2 separate regions of the Homo sapiens genome follow, and region 2 is linked to region 1. The links are contacts of gene promoters, found by promoter capture Hi-C in blood cells and fetal thymus (Javierre and others, 2016). All regions are on one chromosome and are shown on one strand. The core of a region is centred on a gene start or on the middle of the fragment in contact, and the rest is flanking DNA. Distances in the headings are between cores, read along the strand shown. Region 1 holds the start of CFAP20DC-AS1 (CFAP20DC antisense RNA 1). Region 2 has its middle 7.0 kb from the start of CFAP20DC.

Region 1 (6,058 bases), core at 1,693-4,192:
CACAAGTGAGCCACTCTGCTCCTGCCACACTGTCAACTTGGCTGTCAGTTGGTGAGCCATGCCCTGTGTTCAGATCAGGCCATGCTCATCTCTTCTCTGTCTGGCAGCTCCTTCTCTATTTAGAAAATGGCTCTTTAATTTCTGTTTTGGTTTTTTGGTTTTTGGCTAATTTTTTATTAAAGACTTATAATTGTTTTGAGCCGTTTTGGGTTCACAGCAAAATTGAGACGAACCCTATTATCAGTGTCCCCCACCAGAGTGGTAATTTGTTACAATTAATGAACCTCCATTGACACATCATTGTCACATTATCAGGGTTCACTCTTGGTGTTGTGCATTTTATGGATTTAGACAAAGGTATAGTGACATGTATCTACCATTATAGTATCATACAGAGTAGTTTCACTGCCCCTAAAATTCTCTGTACTCTGACTGTTTATCCCTCCTTTTGCTTATTTCTGAAGGCCCCAACTCACTTGTCACTGCTTCATGAAACTCTCCCCAACCCTCATCCCACCCTGAACAGAATTATTCGCTTCCCTCTCTGGGTCCCTGTTATCTTCTGGCTCAATTACAGCACTTATGACATTAGCCAACCACTGTTACCACTATCCCCAGGCCTGGTTGTGAATTCCTTGAAGGCAGAACCCTGCCTGTGTTCTTTCATACCTTCTGTGTTGGAGCACAAAGGCTAGCACAAGGCATCACAGCTAGTTGTCAGTCATTACTTGAATGAATCAATCAATAATATTTTTAAAAATTCCTTGTTTACGGATGAGTTTAGGTCCTTTGCAGGGACATGGATGAAGCCGGAAACCATCATTCTCAGCAAACTAATACAGGAACAGAAAACCAAACACTGCATATTCTCACTCATAAGTGAGAGTTGAACAGTGAGAACACATGGACACAGGGAGGGAAACATCACACAGCAGTGCCCGTCGGAGTGTAGGGGGCTAGGGGAGGGATAGATAGCATTAGGAGAAATACCTAATGTAGATGACGGGTTGATGGGTGCAGCAAACCACCATGACACATGTGTACCTATGTAACAAACCTACACATTCTGCCCATGTATCCCAAAACTTAAAGTATAATTTTTAAAAATTCATTTTTTACTCTAAAATAATTTTCGTCAAGATTCCAAAATAAACATCAGCTTTGCTTTGCTTAAATAAATCCTGAGTGATGCATGTAATATTTTCAATTCAAGATTTGATAAATGGATATTAAATATACACCCAAAGGAAAATCTCCTTCTGAGCAGGGCCTGATTGCAAATAGGAAGAAAAAGATGTAGTCCGGTCCCATTCAGTTTAGCATTTTTACCTGACGACTTCACACACATTGCAGTCTGAAGCCAGAAAGCCTACGCAGAGTAAAATGAAGAGTCTTTAGCAAAATCCTTTGTGTTTAACACAAACTTTGATTCCTCAGCATCTGTACAGTTCAGAGTAATATGTACTGTTTAAAAGGTGTTTAGATATAACAAATTAGTCATTTAAAAGTGTAATTAAATGTAACCACATTCCTCATAGCAAATTGGCTTTTGTAGGCATCTCTTGCTAAATAAATCAAGCCTACTGAGAAATCCATTGGCCTTTGACAGACAAATTTTTCAAAGTTTCTAACTTAGAACCAAATTCAATTAAAACAATACTTTACAACTTCTGTGGAAACCAGGCTACAATCAATCAATTTTGGAGAGTTTCTGTTAGGAGTAGCCCTCGTGAGATTTATTCAAAAACTGGGCTCTCGGCAGCCTTTGGAAGGGCACTAGGAGTTAGTTATAATGAATTTTAAGTGAATTTTATCTTGGTGAGGGATTTTGATTGACAATAGCATAAAGCCATGTTGTGTGTGTGTGTGTGTGTTTTCTTTTTTTAAGGAACAGGAACAGCTATCAATGGACACTGCTTCATGGGATGCCCAAACAAATATAAACTCTAGATCAGTCAACCTGGGCTCAAATTCCAGCTCTGCCATTTATGGACATGATCATCTTTGAAATGGAAATAATAAAAGAACCTTCCTAATATTGGCATTATGCAAATCGAATGAGTACATGAAATGCATGTGCCTGGTGCTTAGCAGAGTAAGCTCACACTGACTGTCAACTGCTGTTTCCCCAAGGTTATTCTCCTCAAAGGGCCACTTGAGTGATCAGAACAGAATTTCTAGGACATTTTCCCTTTTTATGACGACTGAGACCTGAAAGAGTAAGCAGAGATTCTGTAGTGTTTGTTTTGATGTGAGTTTAACCATCAGCATACAGACTGACTCCCTCAGATCCTTCCAAATAAACTCCTTCATTATCTCATTATTTCAATATTTCATTTCACTGTCTCTCCTCAAATGTAGATTCAAGAAAAGTAGGTTTATTGTGCAGCTACCCTGTGAGCAGATGCCCCAAAGCTGTCATTCCTTCAGGTTAATAATTAACATAACCTGAACGGGGGCATGGTGGCACAGGTCTGTATTCCCAGCTAATTGGGAGGCTAAGGCAGGAGGATTTTAGCCCAGGAATTCAAGGCCAGTGTGGGTAACACAATGAGACCCCATCTCTTAAAAAAAAAAAAAAGAATTCCCATACCTAATATCAAGCACATAAGTCTCTTTAGCTTACAAAAAAGAAAAGAAAAGCTCATTGCATGCATCCATCAACATGGCATGTTGCAGAGCATAATATTCGGAGAATAACGAGGCAAAATACACTTAATAAAACTGCAGGCATATGGTGAGGTTCTCAGACAAGTTATTTATGGTCTTGATTAACCTTGCAACATTATCGCCATTTTCATAGGTTTTACATAACAACATAAAAATATTATCTTTACCTTTTAACATGGCAGGATTATCTTATCTCCGGTTCTTTTATTTAGCCTTCATTTCGCTCCCTCACCCCAAAATCTCTAGCAGCTTGATCATGGAAAAGCAAAGCTGCTTGTGCTCCGTGGTAGTTAATTATATATGAATACTGTTTTCCTGGCACTAGCACATAGCAACAGCGCCACCAAAAGGCCGAGGTCCTGAGTTTCTGGGATCTGTTCCATTTCTTTGCTCCACAGCATATCAGCGTTTTTGCATGATATTCCTGGTTGCTGTGTATTCAAAATATAATATATTGGCATTTCAGACTCCTTATAATTAATAGGTTTTAATTTGTTCTGATCTACAGATTCATTAACTTCTCAGCTCTCTTTGGGTAGAATGAGTTTTCTTTTAATCCTCCTGAACTAAAAAGGTATGCAGTTGATTGTGCTAAGCTGCAGATAAATCATATGAGCAGATGTTCTTATACAACTATAGAAATGATATACGAAAACTGATATTAGAGTCAGTGTAATAGTGACAATAGAGACAGTATCTGTACTGTCAGGAGGAAATATTGAAATGTGCAAGTTGTTCTGTGTTTAGTGACTATGAAAGTCACCCCAGGAAATAAACTTTTCTTATTCTCAGAGTACTGTCTATTACATTTTATGATTGTCCCAAATTTAGTAACGTGGCAAAACTGATTTTTTAAATTGTAAATACATAGTGACATGTCATGAGAATGAAAACAATGAAATTAATTTATGGTAAGGAGATAGTCATATATATTTCAAATAAATGTATTTCTTCAGGGTCACTTTTTTTTCCTGCCACAAACAGAACTGATTTTGTCATTTTGTTATTCAAAAACTTAAATAGTCACCACTCTAGATGCACTCTCGAGCTGGAATAAACACTACAGACTAGTGGTTGAGAGGGTAAGCTGTGGACTCAGACTGCCTGGGTTCACATTCTAGCTCCACTCTTTCCTGGCAGGCACGATCCTGGGTTAATACCCAGTGTCAATTTCCTCTTCTGTTGAATGTAGTTGTTCATCCTATTTATTTCATAGAATTGCTCTGAGGATCAAATAAGATCATATCTACCAAGAATTAGCATAAGTACTCAATAAATGTCAATCGCCGCTATTATGATGATGGTCGTAGTTCATTGTAGATACTGGTTGTCATCCCTTTGCATCTACTTACGATATTCTCTAGGTATGACTGAATGCCAAAATCAAAACAAATTCTATATTATTTCATTGGTGCTTTCACAGGATGCTACCTACCTAGAAATAGGTTTACTGCTACATATGTTTATAAGCATATTGTAGGGGAGGAAAAATATCTTTTTCTCACCCACCCTGGATTCATCGCCAAGGCCTCTGTTGCAACAAAAGACAGATTAGCAAAAGAAAAACATACAAATTTATTTCATGTAAGTTTTCCATGATACAGGAGTCTTTATAAGGAAATGAAGAACTGAACAAACAGTGAAACTTGAATATTTTTACTCCAGGTTTGATGAAGAGAGGAAAGTGGTGGAGAAATATGATTGGGCAAAGGAGATATGAGCTAATGGAAATAAACGAAGAAAATCAGCAAGGCTTTTGTTCAGATTCTTCTCTGTGTCCCTGTGTCTTCAGAGATAAGGATGTTCCTTTCTTCAGGGGATAGGGACGGCATCTCTCAAATGAGTATCTTATGACCTGCTCCAGGGGGTGTTCAGAAAATCCTAGCTATGTTTTATGACCAGCTGCAGGGGAGAACAGGAGAAGGTGAGAGTGACCTTCCTGCTACTGTAAATGCCATGTCCTGAACTCCATCAATATCCATTTGTAGGTGAGGATGTCTAGCCTCAGACAGCTAGTTGTTCACCTTTCTATGTGTTCGTGTCAGCAGTTTTTATTTGAAAAGTTTCCATTGGTTACTTTTTTGTTTTCTAACACTTAAAAATCACTATGAGCAAAGATGGAAAGGGATCAGTCTGTATAGTCTTTTTTTTTTTTATTATACTTTAAGTTTTAGGGTACATGTGCACATTGTGCAGGTTAGTTACATATGTATACATGTGCCATGCTGGTGCACTACACCCACTAACACGTCATCTAGCATTAGGTATATCTCCTGATGCTATCCCTTCCCCCTCCCACCACCCCACAACAGTCCCCAGAGTGTGATATTCCCCTTCCTGTGTCCATGTGATCTCATTGTTCAGTTCCCACCTATGAGTGAGAATATGCGGTGTTTGGTTTTTTTTGTTTGTTTGTTTGTTTGTTTGTTTTTTCATGATTTTTTTTTATTATACTTTAAGTTTTACGGTACATGTGCACATTGTGCAGGTTAGTTACATATGTATACATGTGCCATGCTGATGTGCTGCACCCACTAACTCCTCATCTAGCATTAGGTATATCTCCCAATGCTATCCTTCCCCCCTCCCCCCACCCCACAACAGTCCCCAGAGTATGATATTCCCCTTCCTGTGTCCATGTGATCTCATTGTTCAATTCCCACCTATGAGTGAGAATATGCGGTGTTTGGTTTTTTGTTCTTGCGATAGTTTACTGAGAATGATGATTTCCAATTTCATCCATGTCCCTACAAAGGACATGAACTCTTCATTTTTTATGGCTGCATAGTATTCCATGGTGTATATGTGCCACATTTTCTTAATCCAGTCTATCATTGTTGGACATTTGGGTTGGTTCCAAGTCTTTGCTATTGTGAATAATGCCGCAATAAACATACGTGTGCATGTGTCTTTATAGCAGCATGATTTATAGTCCTTTGGGTATATACCCAGTAATGGGATGGCTGGGTCAAATGGTATTTCTAGTTCTAGATCCCTGAGGAATCGCCACACTGACTTCCACAGTGGTTGAACTAGTTTACAGTCCCAGCAACAGTGTAAAAGTGTTCCTATTTCTCCACATCCTCTCCAGCACCTGTTGTTTCCTGACTTTTTAATGATTGCCATTCTAACTGGTGTGAGATGGTATCTCATAGTGGTTTTGATTTGCATTTCTCTGATGGCCAGTGATGATGAGCATTTTTTCATGTGTTTTTTGGCTGCATAAATGTCTTCTTTTGAGAAGTGTCTGTTCATGTCCTTTGCCCACTTTTTGATGGGGTTGTTTGTTTTTTTCTTGTGAATTTGTTTGTGTTCATTGTAGATTCTGGATATTAGCCCTTTGTCAGATGAGTAGGTTGCAAAAATTTTCTCCCATTTTGTAGGTTGC
Region 2 (6,355 bases), core at 1,062-3,561, 230 kb before region 1:
ATGCTTACATTCAACTGATCTTTGACAAAGCAAGCAAAAACATAAAGTGGGGAAAGGACATCCGATTCAACAAATGGTGCTGGGATAATTGGCAAGCCACATGTTGAAGAATGAAATTGGATCCTCATCTCTCACCTTATACAAAAATCAACTCAAGATGGATCAAAGACTTAAATCTAAGACTTTAAACCATAAAAATTCTAGAAGATAACATCAGAAAAACCCTTCTAGACATTGGTTTGGGCAAAGACTTTATGACCAAGAGCCCAAAAGCAAATGCAACAAAAACAAAGATCAACAGATGGAACTTAATTAAACTAAAAAGCTTCTGCACAGCAAAAGAAATAATCAGCAGAGTAAACAGACAACCCACAGAATGGGAGACTATATTTGCAAACTATGCATCTGACAAAAGACTACTATCCAGCATCTACAAGGAATTGAAACAAATCAGCAAGAAAAACAATCCCATTAAAAAATGGACAAATGGTATGAATAGACATTTTTCAAAAGAAGATATACAAATGGCTAACAAGCATATGAAAAAATGTTCAGCATCACTAATTATCAGGGAAATGCAAATCAAAACTACAATGCAATACCACCTTACTCCTGTAAGAATGGCCATAAGGAAAAAATCAAAAAATAATAAACATTGGCATGGATGTGATGAAAAGGAAACACTTTTACACTGCTAGTGGGAATATAAACTAGTACAAGCGCTGTGGAAACAGTGTGGAGATTCCTTAAAGAACTAAAAGTAGATCTACCATTTGATCCAGCAATCCCAGTACCAGGTATGTACCCAAAGGAAAAAAATCCTTATATGAAAAAGACACTTGCACATGCATGTTTATAGCAGCAAAATTCACAACTGCAAACACATGGAACCAGCCCAAATGCCCATCAATCAATAAGTGGATGAACAAAATGTTATATATATAGACACACACACACACACACATACCATGGAATACTACTTAGGCATAAAAAGGAATGAAATAATGGCATTTGCAGCAACCTGGATGGAATTGGAGACCATTATCCTAAGGGCAGTTACTCAGGAATGGAAAACTAAACATCGTATGTTCTCCCTCATAAGTGGAAGCTAAGATATGAGGATACAAAGGCATAAGAATGATACAATGGACTTTGGGGACTTGTAGGAAAGGGTGTGAAGGGGATGAGGGATAAAAGACTACACATTGGGTATAGTGTATGCTGCTTAGGTGATGGGCATACCAAAATCTCAGAAATCACCACTAAAGAACTTATCCATGTAACCAAACACCACCTGTTTCCCAAAAACCTATTGAAATAAGAAATAATAATAATGGTTATTATTCATATGTGTTCTGAAAAGGTGTTCTGAATGTGTTTGTATGCATTAGGCACACACTATCAGCACACATGCAGAAGTCTGTGTGAATGGCAAGAAAATATCCTTTCCATTAACTTATCAGAAACACAAAAAATATCAGACATCAGAAGACCTTGCAAGATGAACATCCTGGATTCCCTTCTACTGCCTTTTTCCCACTTCGCATTTATCTTGTCTTCCCTCTTCTTTGTAGCTTTTTCTATCCCTCTGAACTCCCTCCTGGGTTCCAGTTCCATCCTAGAAGCATAGCTGAAGGAGAATTCTAAGTTTCACCTGTCTCTCTATCCTAGTGGTCATGGTAGGTCCTTACCCTGGGCCCTGGGGTAAGAGGTGGGTGAGGTGGGGTTGAGAAGTCCTTCGGGTTCTTCACACTGGAACTTCTATGAGATGAATAGACTTTTCTCTACATATTATTGACTGTGTTCCATAGCTTAACGGCATTTAATATGCTAAACAAAATATCTGCCTCCTGTGGGGTGAGAAAGGGGAAAAGAGAGAAGGAAATCCCATTCTTCTGCACATATTCTTGGTGGTGAAATATAAGCTAGTACTAGGGCACTTGAGTGGAGGTGGAACTCAGATGCTTTTGGACAGTTGAGTTAGACAACTTCCCTCTCTATGTGGTCTAATTTGAACTAAGATTAGATATTTTAGGGGACTGGTGTGAATTTCTTCATACACATAACCTATTTGCATCTGGTGGTTTTATTGAGGGCCAAGAGCCTCCCAGGAGAAAAATATTTAAACTCTGTTGACATATGTATGCCTACCTGACAGAGCTATGCCTAACTGACAGAAAATTGGGGAAATCAGATTTTAGGAGGGGCTTCAGAAAAGAATTCACCATTAGGAAAGAATATACAATGAGTTAGATGAGTAACAGGACCTGAAATGATAAGGAAATATTGGTATGGGTAGGGCAAATAGTCAAACTTGTCCCAACCCAACCAACCTCATGGAATAGGCCTGTGAGTGTGTGTGTGTGTATGTATGTATGTATGTGTGAATTTTTTAAATTACAGAACTTTGGGACCCAGTCAGCTTCGCTGTGGGGACTTCCCCACCCCAAACACCTTATCTTACCTGGAAAAGACATCTTTCTCTTGGTAAATGAAAGAAGATACACATCGAAAAATCAGTATGGACAATGATGGTGGTAGGCAGTGTAAGTGGTACTCAGGGCGACAGTGTAGATCACTTTATTTAAATAGTTCCAATTGGGGTCTGGGCTTCAGAGTTAGGTCTGGACTAGCTGCATCATTTGAGTGCAATAGCTTTATTGCTAACCACTGAATACTGGGGCTCAAATAATTTTGCAGAAAAGACTTTTCTTCTTCCTGGCAACTGAGTGAAATTCACAATAACCATTCAGTTTGCTTCCTAAGAATAAAAACACAAAATTCTAGATTTACTGGTGTTAATGCCCCCCAGCCAAAGAACATCAGGGATATATCAGTAGTTGAAGAAGCTGGGTTCATTACTCATTGCAACAAGGAAGAAAATACACCATTGGGGAACCTTGGGTATGCTAGTAAGAGGATGTTAGAACTTACTATAGGATTTGGGCTTATGTTAGCTGATTTAGGGGAGGGTTTAGGGAAGTAGAGCTTTGCTCTGGATTGGATCCTGTCAGGAACCAAGAGTATTTCAATGATTGGGAATATTAATAAATCTTATATATAAGACAGGAAGAATGAAGTAAGGCTTAGCTATAATTGGTAAAGAAGCAGCAGTCACTCATATTAACCACGATAGGGAAATGTTTAGTCATCTTTTTGATTTGGACCATATTCATGTTTTTATCTTGATTCATCATGGTCACAGAGTGGTTTTGTATGATGTTGATATTCTGTGAAACTGTTGGTGTTCAGTAACAATAGCAACAACAAAACACCAAAACCTAGCTGTGAGTGTCAGGCCAGCTTCCAGATGTCTTTGCTTCACTGGTGACATTAGCGAAAGCAGTTACATTCTAATTTCAACAACTTCAAACATGGCAGGTATTCTTTGGCAATAGTGGTAACAATGGCAACTAAGTGGAATCCCTCATAAAAATGTTTGGTCTGAGAAAAAAATGCAGTTAAGTAATCACTTCTGAAGTGATTCCTGGCTACTTAGTATCCTCTTAAAGATCCTGGAAATACACAGGCATCCAATAACATTGGATTTCCTGTTACTAAGCAGGTAAGAGCTTAAAAAATCCAGGCTTGAATATTAAGAGTTAATGAGGCTGGGCGCGGTGGCTCATGCCTGTAATCCCAGCACTTTGGGAGGCTGAGGTGGGCAGATCACGAGGTCAGGAGATCGAGACCATCCTGGCTAACACGGTGAAAACCCGTCGCTACTAAATATACAAAAAATTAGCCAGGCGTAGTGGCGGGCGTCTGTATTCCCAGCTACTCGGGAGGCTGAGGCAGGAGAATGGCGTGAACCCAGGGGGTGGAGCTTGCAGTGAGCCGAGATCGCTGCACTGCACTCCAGCCTGGGCGACAGAGCCACACTCCGTCTCAAAAAAAAAAAAAAAAAAGGAGTTAATGTAAATCCTGGGATAATGAAAAGGGCCTATGATATTTGAATTACACATATGTACATCAAATCATTTAAAGAATGTTAGCGAACCTTTCTTTCATATTAAATTATTCATGTATAGTTAGAGTTTTTAAAAAATATGTCTGGTGTCTGTTATTTGTAAAAAAAAAAAAAAAATCATTATAGTAGATATCTCCTTTTGGCTGCCCAATATCCATCTTCCTCCTTCCCTAGAAGAGGACCCAGAGTTTCCTTTGGGAAACAATCCTTCCCCATTCCTAGTTACATGTTTGGGTGGTACCCCATTCCCAGCCAATCAATATATCTCATCTCCTTGTTTGCCGGGACTGGTTTAAGAATAAGCACTTAATCTAGCCTTAAGCTTATTTATCTGACCAAAGTGTTTATTTCAGAGATAGGCATATCCCCTGAACTGATCCAAATGAAGGTAAACTTCAGGACTTTAGCCCCAAATGCTCTATTTAGCGATATCAGAATGTAAAATTGAGAATGCTATAGCCATTTTGTAAACCTAAAGAGAGCCAGCCTAACGACTGAGGCAACCTAGAGGAAGCAGTGTGGAGAAAGGAAACCTGATGATGTTTCTGACCTCTAGATGCAGCTGGATCTACTCTAGGTTGTTAAGAAATCAATGCCAAGTCCAATGTCATTAAGTTTTCCCCTTATGTTTTCTTATAAGAGTTTTATAATTTTAGGTCTTATGTCTTTGATTCATTTTGAGTTAATTCATGTATATACATTTAAAAAGTAAAGCAAGAGTCCAATTTCATTCTTTCTCATGTAAACATCTAGTTTTCTACAGCCCTTTTATCACAAATCAACACTAACTGGCTTTAGGTTAGAGAAAGTTATCCAAGAAAAACTTGCTACTTAGATCTAACTTGTCTGTTAAAAACCTTGATCATTTATGTCATTGTAAAACAAATTAATACTAAATATCCACTCAATAAATGTATTCCTTTCAAAGATGCATTTGGCAAACGGTCGTTTTTCTAAACCTAAGTGCTTGCTATGTAAAGCTACTTTATTTAGGAAAGTATTCATACCTAATTATCAAACTACTGGGATAGTTTTTTTGTTTTGTCTTGTTTTCCTGAGAAAGCTTTCAAGTGGTTTTGGAAATTTTAAAATGATGCATGACTTTTGAAGTACTTGGTCATCTATAGGTACAGGCAAGAAATAGTCCCCATAGGATCTCATGGACCTGAGAAGGGGGAAAAACCCATTTGAGGAGAAAATCTAAAAACAGTAAAGCCCTCAAAAACTTTCACCATTCCATACTTTCTGGAAAAAAGAAGACACTACTATTTTCAAATCACCTGTCAAATGAATAACTTTGGTATCATTAATTTTTCTTGCTTAAAACTATAAAATAGGCCCAGTTTCAAAACTTTCCTATCAACTCAACATTATCATTCATAAAGCTATTCCATAATGTATAAAAAATTAACCCTTCAAGTATTAAACATTTCTAGATTACTGTGTAGCAAATTCTCATGAAACAGATATCTTATTTCTTCCCATTAGCCAAATAATTAGATTATGTACTGTAATCAAAATATAAACTACAACAATATTGTGGTAAATACAGTACATTCTTAGTTCAAAAGATATTATTTCTCGTCAAATTGATAATCATACTCATCTAAGTGGAATGGCTATATTGGCATACGAAGACTGCCACTCTTTAAAAACTGTTTCTAGTCTATTCCATTTTAAATACTATCCAATATCCTTTAATATTAATATACCAACAAATTATTTTTTTCAATCACTTTCTTTGTAGAACAAAGACAAGCACTTTACAGCTTGTAAAGTGACTAATCTTAAAGTTATCAAATTAAGTTAAGCAATTTAACGCAATTACTAAATGTACCAACTTCTTAAAAAATTGTAGCAATTAAAGAAATTGTTTCACTGTCTTTTATAGGGAACATAAATAACTTGGTTTATCTTTTATAATGAACATAAATAACTTGGTTTAAGCCAAGTTGTTTGGGCAGGCTGGCTTTTTTCTTTTTTTTTCTTTTTTTCAGAATTCTGCTAGATATCCTTGAAGTCATAGTCAAATCCAAGTTTTTGTTCATAGCTTGCATTCAATCAAATTGAAGAGTACTTGCTATTGTAAAGTTGGATTTCCACCTTTCTCTGATTTTGAATTCATACTGTTAAAGTACTGCACATTCTTATTTTTGTTTTATTGCTACCATTGTCATTGTTAATGGTGGCTCTCACCATAGGCAAAATACCATTGATAAACTTGGGCAGCTTTCAGATTTGCCCATTTCCTGGACAAGCAGTATATCATACTTGCTAATGAAAATCCAACTCTGAGTCTCCTGAACTTGTTAGAAATTAGGACGGTCAGATGACAATGTTTGGCTTTGGACTATTACTTTCTCTTTAGGAAGTGAGGACACTGAA

What was found. Contacts are between HindIII fragments. The CHiCAGO score rates a contact against its expected background, and 5 or more counts as called.
Region 2: a contact is called between a fragment that was not itself captured here and the fragment with the promoter of CFAP20DC-AS1 in region 1, in 2 of 17 cell types (endothelial precursors and megakaryocytes). The highest score is 7.6, in endothelial precursors.

The regions. Positions count from the first base shown.
Region 1 is chr3:58,821,355-58,827,412 of GRCh38, reverse strand. It overlaps CFAP20DC-AS1 (CFAP20DC antisense RNA 1), which reads right to left and starts at 2,942. Exons shown (of 3, transcript NR_110820.1): 1 at 2,838-2,942. The region is part of intron 14 of CFAP20DC (CFAP20 domain containing); the gene reads left to right. The HindIII fragment of the contact is 7,858 bases long and covers 1-6,058 here.
Region 2 is chr3:59,053,810-59,060,164 of GRCh38, reverse strand. No RefSeq gene overlaps it. Among named protein-coding and RNA genes, the nearest start is that of CFAP20DC, 7.0 kb to the right of the region's middle. RefSeq lists a silencer at 1,556-1,806. The HindIII fragment of the contact is 3,967 bases long and covers 328-4,294 here.